Regions from separate parts of the Homo sapiens genome. Here region 1 is linked to region 2. The links are contacts of gene promoters, found by promoter capture Hi-C in human tissues and cell types (Jung and others, 2019). All regions are on one chromosome and are shown on one strand. Each heading gives the region's core, a stretch centred on a gene start or on the middle of the fragment in contact. The rest is flanking DNA. Distances are from core to core; before and after follow the strand shown.

Region 1 (5,594 bases), core at 2,828-5,327, 320 kb before region 2:
AGACAAAAAAAAAAAATTGTGACTTAGCACAATTTCTGCTGATGGATTTCTGATTCCTGAATGTTATGACGATTTCATGTTAAGAGGCATTAAAACATGATTATAATTGAAAACAAGAGGGCCTGTGACACTAGAGGGACCACGGTTTAATTTGGATTAGTATTAAGGTCCTGAACATTAAACTAAGAATATTTCCTCTTCAACAGGTTAAAATAAACTATTTTGGCAAAATATTAACTATTACTAATGGGTAAAAACTACATATTGCTTGTACCAGGTGCTATTTTAAGAACTTTACATTTATTAACTCATTTAATCCTCAGGAGAACTCTATAAAGTATAGACTACTACTTACCTGAAAAAACTGAGGCACAGAGAGATCAGGTAATTTCAATGAGGTCACAAAACTGTGAAGACAAAGAGTCAAGATTCGATCCCAGGTGGTTGGGCTCCAAAGACTGTAATTTTAACCTGTAAACTTGGACAGTTTCATCTGCATGAGGCCAAAAGCTAATAAAAACCTTGAATCCACTCTAGTAGGTGAGTACCTCCACTGTATCCTCTAAAGCATGTTTCAGCCTAGAGGAGTACCCAACCTAGTCTAATTTCTCCCCCAATATTTTGAGTTCCTGCATACCACAGAGGCTGCACAAAGTCAGGGGAGGCTAACGTAGGATGACGCAGGCATCTACACATAACTTGTCATTTTCTCATCTCATGAGTGGACTCAGTGGAAATGCTCAGACCATAAATCAACACCATCTGTAATTGAGGTTTGCTCAAGGTATCTTTGCATGCTATAGCATTCATTGAAATATCTGTGAGGTAGGTTAGAACCAAATTTAACAGTTACTTCTCCAACTAGCCTTCTCATTTGTTCTCCAACTTGGGAATGATTCTATCATTAGACACACCCTGGGGCCAGATTTTACAAGTGGCACTATCATAACAGTGTGCCAGCTTAGGACCTGAGTTCACCACATTCCTTTCTGAGCCTACTCTGATGATTTGCCTTGGACTGGCCTTGTCCAAGCTCACCTTGACATCTGCCTTGTTCAGTGCTCAGTAGGCAGTTGTTGTTTAGAAAGTCTTTGTAAGTAACTATTTTAAAGTCACCATTTTACAGATGGACAAAGTGAAATACAGAACACAAAATGTGATTGATGTCATAAAGCAAATCAATGCTCCCAAATGCAATTTGCCATTCGCTCTCCTGTAAATATGTGAAATTGGTGACTTAATGTTCTTACTGTAAAAATGCCCAAAGAAAGAGAATAGAAGAAGAGTAACAGAGTTGGGGGAGAGCTACCACTGGAATGGAAGGAGCGAGGGAGGAAAATAGGAAAGGAGGAAGGAGTATTGCGAGAACATAAAACCTTACTACAGTGGCCCTGAATCATGGAGCTGCAACACACCTGGAGCACTTATAAATTCTTTTGAGAAATGCCAGTGTGACATACGCCTCGCAAGCCAGCAATTCATGAACTCGATGCAGTAGTTGAAACCAAAGGGGTAATGGCCACAGCTGTCAGGATCCAGATGCTCTGGGGCTCGGCCCTGCCACTTTGTCCCAGCATTCATGCGAAGGAATGCTGTGAACTGGGCATATCACCACTGTTCACCCTGGCCTGCTTCCAACAGCACCGGCTGCATCTGGCCTGGAAGATGGCCATGGCTGGCGGCCCTATGTTCCCCATAAGGTTGGGCACTGGGCTGCAGCCAGGCTGCGAGTGCTGGACCTACATCCAGCACACTCTCCGTCCAACCTCATCTGCCTGTCTACCCCAGAACCCCCAAGGAAGCTTGGCCTTTCCTGGCACACAGAATCCTCCTGAGAACTGGCGTCTTTCTGCAGTCAACAGAAAAGATGGAATGAAAACCACACAGATGAAAAGTCATGTCATTTATTAATAATTTCTTTTTTTTTTCTTCTATAAATTGGAAGGAAAAAGTCTTTGGTGACACTCTCTATAAAACAATCTATCTTGGATGGCGAAACCCAGACATAAAGTTACACAGGTCAGTGAAGTAAATCAATATCTATGGCTTTGTATTTTCTCACACGCGCTCTCTCACACATACTTGAGGGCTTAATTACGCTAAGTCATTAATACTCTATAACAAATGGGAAAAACACTTCAGAAAAGACCTGTGGTGACACTACAAAAACATTGGCAACATATTAGAAAACTCTGTCCCAAGTGTACATCGTATACAAAATAAGGTATACTTTTGTTTTTTGCGTTACAATTTGCCACCTAAAATAGTTCCAGTTTTTGATGTCTTTCTTTCTGCCCCTCAACATATCCTATACATATTGTTCTCTCAAAATAAGTACACAAGGTTCATTACATGGTAACCAGGTCATTTGCATAGCCCTAGTTTTAGTAATAGTTACAACCGAAAGGACAGGGATGTATTCCTGTAGGAGAAGAACAGAAAACTATTGCAGAAATCAAATGGCCTGAGGCCTAAAAGGCAAATCATTACAAAACCAGAGTGACTGAAAGGCTAGCCTGACTTGATTTTAAACAAGGGTGAGACTGTGCTATCCTGAGGGCTCAGCTTTCTCAAGGTTTGCCTTCTTCTCCTAGTTGCTGGGCCATGTTAAGTTCCAATTCTGGGTAGCTCACTGAGGTTCCTGATATAAAATGTATTGGAACTCTAGACCAGTGACAACTACAATCCCTACTAGGTAAAACTCATGGAGACAAAAGCCTTTGATTTTTGGAAAGGGCAAAAAGGGGAGAGATGGTTTTGAGGAGTCAAATCCATCATCACAATTATGGTGTAAATAACAGCTTTTTTATCCAGAGGTTCTGTACAGCATTATTGAACTGATGGGAGAGACCACTATCTTAGGGTACTTAATCCCCCAAGCTTTTTTTTTTTTTTAAAGAAAAAAAAAAGGGGGGCCAGGCGCAGTGGCTTACACCTGTAATCTCAGCACTTTGGGAGGCAGAGGCAGGTGGATCACCTGAGGTCAGGAGTTTGAGACCAGCCTGGCCAACATAGCAAAACCCTGTCTCTAATAAATATACAAAAATTAGCCCAGTGTGGTAGCACATGCCTGTAATCCCAACTACTAAGCAGGGTGAGGCAGGAGAATTGCTTGAACCGGGGAGGCGGAGGTTGCAGTGACTGAGCTGAGATCACACCAATGCATTCCAGCCTGGGTGACAGGGCAAGACTCTGTCTCAAAGAAAAAAAAAAGACTTGGTGTCAAAGGATAAACTAATCTCTTTATGCTGAAGTTCTTATACCAAGTGAGACAAGTTTAGCACAGTTTGATATTAATGCTTATTTGCTGAGAACTCAACTCAAAACAACTTTGTCCCTGTAAGCATGCCTGAGAAAATGAGGCTGATAGTGAAAGAAATTTCTTGGTTAAATCTGGCCAAGAATGACAAAACCAACTGAAAGGTTCTTGTCCATAGTCGCTGTAAAGGGGAACTAGGTAAATGAATTCAGCAACTGCGGTCCTGATGTACTGGCTGCATGTTGATTATATTCACAAGTAAGAGGCAGGAGCATTTTTATTTGAGAGTTCATGGCAATAACTGCTACTTTTAAATACTGGAGATCTCAAGAGACCCAAGGGAACACAAGACACTTCCAGGTCTGGGAAGTTTGCTTGGCTTTTGCATCCATAATTCAGCCTTGTCCAGCAAGAATCTCATTCAGATTCCAACCTAGTAAGGCTGTCTTCCCCCTGATCCTGCCCTTTAAACAGGTTTGTTCTTAAATCAAGTGCCCTGTTTTTTTTTTTTTTAATTAAAAAAAATAGTATATAGGCCTATTCACATTCATTCATCTCACCCCTGATTAAAGTTCAGTAACCTTTATGAAAGGCCACCAGCATAATACTCTTTCAAGTCACCAGGTATTTGAGAACCACCAAAATAAAGGCTAACATAGCCTACTGTAATGAAAACCAAAAGTCATTCTAAAAGGGAAATTGAAGGATGCAACCGGATTGATCCTTCTTTGAGCACCATTTGTCACAAGAAGAAATTAAACTGTAATGCACATAAGATTCCAGTAACAAGCTTTCCCTTTTTTTTTGAAGCATCTATCTGAAAGTGTGTTGATACGACCAGGTAGGCCCACCTAGCTATGCTATCTTTTGTGGTATGACTATCGTGATTATTTCATGGATTTTTCTCTACAGTCTCAATTTTGAGCCATTTTGCTAGCTTCAACAAAGGTGATATGTATTAATGTATTTGTAAGCTTTGATATTTATAACACTTTCATATAAATAAATACACAGCCAGCTTTTAAAAAATTACTTTTAAGATCCTGTGTCTTAATGTGGAGCTGGGAAAAGATGCTGTGTGGAAATCCATAAGTGGCTGAGTCCTCTTTGGAATTTCTGCAAGCAATTCATTACGTGGTTGGCACTGTACTCTCAGCCCTTGGCTTCTCTCCAATGCAGCACATGTTAGCCCACTTAGGGACCCCTAGTTATCATTAAAGTTGACCAGGAGATAATTCCTGACACCCTACAGAGATGGCTATGATTTGTCAACTTGTTGCAATGCAATACAACTCTTTCCTAACTGAATTAAAATTACATATTACTGTCGAGCTTCACTGATTTGTTAAGCATTGTTCTATTCCCAGCCTTATATTCCAAATGGGAGAAGAACACGCTAGCTCACATCCCAAAGAGATTTGCTCAGAGAATGACATAAAATGAAACTGTGGAGATTTAAAGTGGATGAAAGGTGTGTTATATCCTGTTCTTATTTATAATTACCATTTTTCTTCACATAACACATGTTGTTTGTGGAGGATATGTGTTGTGAGCTTGGTGACAGGTCAATCTGGCAAAGCAGGTCCTTGAATCCACTTGTGTGACTGACTGGTACAATTAGGGACATTGCTTTGCAAGCCAATATGACCACCTAAGTTTCAAGTTGGTTTTGGGGTCATTGAACAAAATATCGCATTTATTTTTTGGTAAAGGAGAAACAAGAATAATTTGCCAATCCTGAAAAAAATAATTTAAATACAAATTCACAAAGGCCAAATGAATAAAGATTAACTGCTAATCTTTTAACTTGCTGAGAAGTGCAGCTTAAATGACATGAAACCTGTAAGACCAAACATTTTATAGAAAAGACACAAGTGCAAGCACCATGGACCTAAGAATTATTTTTCAACAAATGCCTAAGAGATAATCACATCTACTTAGGGGAAAATGTCACATGTTTGAGAATGGACTATGGATGGGTCCAATTAGATGAGAGAGGTATTTAGGGAGCTGTTCTGAGTCATGAGGCTGAGGAGAAAATCCTCTCTTTAATTGAATTTCACTGTCTACGCACCTCTCAAAACACCATCTGGATATGTGGGCTCTACTCCTTGTTCTGCAGCTAGGTAGCCTGTTGAGTCACTTCTCTGGACTTCCACAAACACTTTCACTCCTGTTTACAGCACCATCCCCGTGCTATCATTACAAGCTCCTCTTCCTCTCCCAGATGTCTACAAAGAAAGGATGAGGTAAAGTCCAATGGACTTACGGTTTCCACTGACCTAAGATGGCCACTTGAAATTATCAGAACAAAATTCTCTGATGAACTTTTCTT
Region 2 (5,720 bases), core at 30-2,529:
GACAACTGGTCTCTGTCTAAAGTATCCAGACTCAGGACAAAGAGGCACGCCTGGCTGGGGTCCGAGGTGTAGAACCTGGAGCCCTCGATGGCCGCTAGAATGTTTTGGTAACTTTCGGCGATTTTCTCCCCTTTTTGCTGTGGGTATACGTAGACTTTGAAGCCGTTTTTCTTGCAAAGGGTGAAATCGAAGCAGGACTCCATGCGGCACTTCTTGCCTTTGTAGATGCTGGAGTTGGCATCTCGCTTCTGCCGGGGGGAAATGTGCACGCTGGAATCCTCGTTTTCCAATTGATCCCAAGGAACGAAGGGGCGCAGAGCGTCCGGGAAGCGGGGCCAGAAATGATCCGGACTGGGGTGGTGCAAGCCATTCCTACCGCTGTGTTCTTCTCTCCGGCTGTGGCTCCTCGATGCCCTAAACTGCAAGCCTCCGAAATAAAACAAAAGGGCGAGACAAGAGCCAGCTGAGAGCAGGATGAAATAGCGTTTTTTGGCCTGCATGTGTCCTGCCTGGGTCAAGAGGATTGTAAATAAACACAAGAATCACCCAAGTTTCCCAATCAACACTTTCAGCTCCAGTCCGCCATCTTCCCGCCTGTAAAGACTTCAAACTCTCCGCTCCCACCTTCTCTGGATGCCTTTCCCCAAGCCGTGGACTGATCCAGCGCATGTGGGCGATTTCTTTAACTTTCTCCCCTTCGGTCTTTCATCTTTGGGTTGCACAATGCACGGGAGAGAGCGGGGCTGAATATCTCGCACCCAGGGCGGGCGAGCAGCGGACTGTAATTTTCTTGCATGCAACAAGACGGAGGAAAAGAAAGAGAGAGGGGAGAAAAAAAAAGCTCCCGATACCCAATCAATGGCAAGACGAAGTGATTGCCTTGCCTCTCGGATTCCTCTCGGCAGCGTGGAAAATGAGCCCCGGGAAGGCAACTTCAACTCATCCACCACTCTCCGTGCAGAGCACTCCGGTTCCAACAAGTCAGCCGATCCCGGGTTCAGCCGGCTAGTGCATCTTGCAGCTGGGGCGCCGTAACCTCACAAATCCCTGCATCTCTCTTTATTCCCTTCTGCAGCGGCTCCAAGACTCCGGCGGTGTTTACTCCTGCGCTCGCGGGGCCGGCCCCCGGGACGCGCGGCGGCCCGGCTGGAGGCGGCGGCGGCGGCGGCGCTGGGTGGCGGCGGCGGCGCGTCCTCCCCGCGGGCAGTGCCGGCCCCGAGCAGCGCTTCGCAGGCCCCCGCGCGAACGCTGCCGACCGCCGCGTTCGGTCGCCGAATGTTACCCGGTTCTGAATGTTACACTTACACATTCCATTCCCGACACGACAGCGCTGACCTCATCCATCCACGCAGCCCGCGCTGCCATTGGCCGAGCGTCACGTCCGGGGGGGGCGGTGCTTCCGCTGCGCCCATTCATAACCCCCGGCCGCGGGCCGAGGCGCCGGCGCGGCGTTGGGGGCGTAGGGGGCGCAGGGAGCCGGGGCTCCCGGGTTGCAAGCTGCCGGCGGGCTGCCGGGCAGGTGGAGCGCGGGACGGCCCGGTGCGAGCCCCGCGGCCCCTCGGCGCGCCCAGGCCCGGATCTCGGCCTGCGCCGTGCCGGGGACCAGAGGCGCCTGCGGAAACGCGGCGGCCGGGGAAGGAGGCACCGGCAGGGGCCCCGTGCCGCGCGGCCCCGGGCGCCCTGGAGAATCTGGCCTCCTGGGCTGCCTGCCGGAACGCCTAGAGAAAGATGCTTTGAAGGAGGGAAGCAGGGAGGAAAGGAAGACTTCATAGAAAGCGACCGCCGATCCGAAAGCTGCCTCTCCCAGCCCTCCTTCCACTCTCCGAGACCCAGTATTTCAATTTTCTGCTAAGCATTAAAACAATCTCCCCTTACTCCTCCTCTACATAGCACATTTTTTTAAACCAAAGAAACACCCCAATGCCCAACAATAAAGAGGAATTATTACAATCAAGAGGAATTGTTGCAATTCTTCATGCCTGCCTCTGTGCTAAGAGTGTAAGACGGCTATCCTAAATCCTCATTATCTACTTAGGCCGCCTTGCCTGAGCCCCCTCTGTCTATTATGAAGAAAGCTTCCAAGAGATCCAATCACAGAGAAAAAATAAATTTTCTAATGGCTGCAGGGAAACCAGTTAATTTAAGCTTGCCCCAGTCCTCAAAGTGATGTTATTCTCTTGGTGGTGGTGGTGGTGGTGGTGGTGTTAAAGATATCTCTTAAGGACATATGACTGGTAGAATTGCCAACTGTCCCAGCTATAGAAGGAACACTTGCATCAGGAAAACTACCTTATGTACAATTAGTGCCAAATAGTTGGTCCTTCCCTCACTGACCTCCCACTCCTTGGCCCAAGCTCCTGCCACTCCCAGTGGAAGAACTTCATTAGATAACTCAGGTAACCGAGGAGCAGTCCCGCTAAAGATCCTCCAGGTCCACAAAGATGTGCTAGGCTCCCAAACAGTATCTCTGGTCAAAGTCAAACTCCCTGGCCTCAGATCCTGAACACTGCTTTACAGAAAACACCTCCCACCCTCTGGCCTAGCTAAAGTCTCAGGGCTCGGGCAAGCTAGACAGTTGCCTAGGGCAGCCGGCTGTTTAGTGATTGTTTATTATGGGAGTGACTGAGAGCTAGGAGCAGACACTTCCCGGCTTCCCTCAGGCTGCAAAAACCCCAGCGGGGTGTGGATGAAGGGCAGGGTTATAACAAGGCAGTATGAAATGATAGAGTGGAAAGTTTCAGACCTCTGTTGTTTCAGATTTGTTTTAATAAAGCAGGGAAGGGGCATGGGTGGGACATTACTATACATTCGTGAAGCCTCTCCCTATTTCTGACCTGCCAAAGATGAGACAGCTTTTCCAGATTTGACTTGAACCCCCTGCACAATGTAGAGAGGCCTGGGACAGGAATAAGGATTCAGTCATCTTCCAAATACAGTGACAATGATGCAGATAAAGGCAGTGATTGAAACCACATGTGACCCAAAGCTCCCCCCAGCCCAAGTTGCTAAGAACAACAGTTCAAGGCAGGAGGCCTTCTCTTCTGATCAGGGTGCAGATTATCTCAGCCCTGTGAAGTGGGGCTGTGGGACTGGAGGTGCTCTCTCTCTCTCTCTCTCTCTCTCTCTCTCTCTCTCTCTCTCTCTCTCTCTATATATATATATATATATATATATATATATATGCTGGAGTGCAGTGGCAGGATCTCGGCTCACTAGAAACTCTGCCTCCCAGATTCAAGTGATTTGCCTCCCTCAGCCTCCGGAGTAGCTGGGATTACAGGTGTGCACCACCAGCCCTGGCTAATTTTTGTTTATTTTTGGTAGAGATGGGGTTTTGCTGTATTGGCAAGGCTGGTCTCGAACTCCTGACCTCAAGTGATCTGCCCACCTTGGCCTCCCAAAGTGCTGGGATTACAGCATGAGCCACCTCGCCTGGCCCCTCTATATCTTGCCAGTTGTTTTGCATGACCTTAGGGGGAGCTAGCTACCCTCCTTGCTCTTTTGTGTTCTGTTTATGTTTTGGCATGTGCTTCCTGCTTTTCTTGCCTAATTATGGCTAATTTCCTTATCCCAGACCCCAGTGTTACCCATCTCTACTTGTACATCCCAAAGTGTTGTGTACTGTCAGAAAAACTTTGGTGCTGACAATTAGAGAAAACTTGAATTCAGACCCCAGATCTGCCATTTACTAGTACCTTGGGCATGTGGCTTAATTTCAGTGGACCTCCAGTTTCTCGTTTGAAAAGTCAGGATAATAATATCTTTCTTGCCAGCAGTTTTTTTTTTCTTTCTTTTCTTTTTAACAGAGTCTTGCTCTATTACCCAGGCTGGAATGTGCAGCAGTGTGGTCTCAGCTTACTACAACCTCCACCTCCCGGGTTCAAGTGATTATCCTGCCTCAGTCTCCCGAATTGCTGGGATTACAGGCAACCGCCACCATACCCGGCTAATTTTTGTATTTTTAGTAGAGATGGGGTTTTGCCATGTTGGCCATGGCTGGTCTCGAACTCCTGACCTCATGTGATCCGTCTGCCTCAGCTTCCCAAAGTGCTAGGATTATAGGCGTGAGCCGCCGTGCCTGGCCTCAATTTGTAAACTGTAAATTGCTCTACATGTGTAACACCATTAGCCTAAGTTCCACTTTTCAAACTCCAACTGTAATCTTAAAAGTAGCCCCTACAATGGTATCATCATTTTGTCTCCTCTGTTTTATTTTTTCCTAACCCTTATTAGCTGAAATCTCCTCTGTTCGTTTGCTTGTTAACTTTTCACAGTAAGGAAGCCCCTGAGAGGAGGAGCACTGTTTGTCCTACTCACTCCTTTATCCCAAATGCCAAGGGCAGTACCTGGCACTTAAGTGAAGCTCAATCACTGATTCAAATGAATGAATGACTTAGTAAAATTCAGCTTCATCACAGCACTTGTACAAACTCGAAAAGAAAGAGCTCATAAGTACAGGCAACAAAAGCAAAAATAAACAAGTGAAATACATCAAACTAACAATCTTCTGCACAGTCAGTAAAGGAAACAATCAACAAATGAAAAGGCAGCCAACAGAAGGAAAGGAAATATTTGCAAACCAAATGCTGATATGGGGTTAATATCCAAAATATACAAAGAACTCACACAACTCAATAGCAAAAAAAAAAAAAAAAAGCAAAGGACCTAAATAAACATTTTTCAAAAAAGACATTCAAATGGCCAATGGGTATATAAAAATGTGTTCAACATCGTTAATTATCAGGGAAATACACATTAAAACCACAGTGAGATACTACCTCATACCTATTAGAATGGCTGTAATCAGAAAGACAAAAGATAACAATGGGGCAACATGAAGAAAACAGAACCCTTGCACACTGTTGGTGGGACTGTAAATTCATATGGCCATTGTAGAAAATGATAGGGAAATTCTCAAAAATTTAAAAGTGTAATTACCATATATCATCTAGCAATCTTACTTCTGGGTATATATCCAAAGGAAATGAAATCAACATGTCAAAAAGATATCTGCATTCCCGTGTTCACTACAGTGTTATTCACGATAACCAATACGTGGCAACAACCCAAATGTCTGTTGATTGATGAATGAATAAAGACAATGTGGTACATATATGCAATGGAATATTATTCAGCCATAAGAAGCAGGAAATCCTACCAGTTGCGACAACAGGGATGAACCTTATGCTCAGTGAAAGAAGCAAGATATAGAAACACAAATACTGCACTTCTGTGTGGATCTGACCCATATGTGGAACCTAAAAAAGTCAAACTCACAGAAGCAGAGAGTATAATGGTGGTTGCCATGGTCTGGGAGTTTGGGGCAATCGGGAGATGTTAGTCAAAGAATATAAACATTCAGTTATAAGACGACTAAGTTCTGGGGATCTAACATACGGCATGGTGACTGTGGTTAATAATGCTGTATTGTATACCTGGAATTTGCTAAGACAGTACATCTTAAGTACTCTCACCACACACACACGTACACATACACACAAAGATAACTATGTGCCATGACAGTTGGGTTAATTGGCTTGATAATAGTAATCATTTCACAATGTATACATACATCAAATCATGTTGAACATCGTCAATGTATATACAGTTTTTATTTGTCAATCATATCCCAATAAATCTGATGAAAAATCTTTCTTAAAGGCCCCTTGGTAGTCCTCAAAGCAAGACTCAGTCTGTGGTTTGAAGTGGAAATATTACTA

The links. The method cuts DNA at HindIII sites, captures the fragments that hold promoters and counts their contacts. A contact is called where the count stands out against the background at its distance.
Region 1: a contact is called between a fragment that was not itself captured here and the fragment with the promoter of EXT1 in region 2, in 1 of the 25 tissues and cell types used here (aorta).

What each region holds. Positions count from the first base shown.
Region 1 is chr8:117,792,602-117,798,195 of GRCh38, forward strand. EXT1 (exostosin glycosyltransferase 1) reads right to left here. Exons shown (of 11, transcript NM_000127.3): 11 at 1,889-5,594. Among named protein-coding and RNA genes, the nearest start is that of SNORD168, 130 kb to the right of the region's middle. The HindIII fragment of the contact is 3,473 bases long and covers 2,342-5,594 here.
Region 2 is chr8:118,110,547-118,116,266 of GRCh38, forward strand. EXT1 (exostosin glycosyltransferase 1) reads right to left here and starts at 1,280. Exons shown (of 11, transcript NM_000127.3): 1 at 1-1,280. The coding sequence starts at 500. RefSeq lists silencers at 1,133-1,222, 1,323-1,702. The HindIII fragment of the contact is 7,998 bases long and covers 1-4,384 here.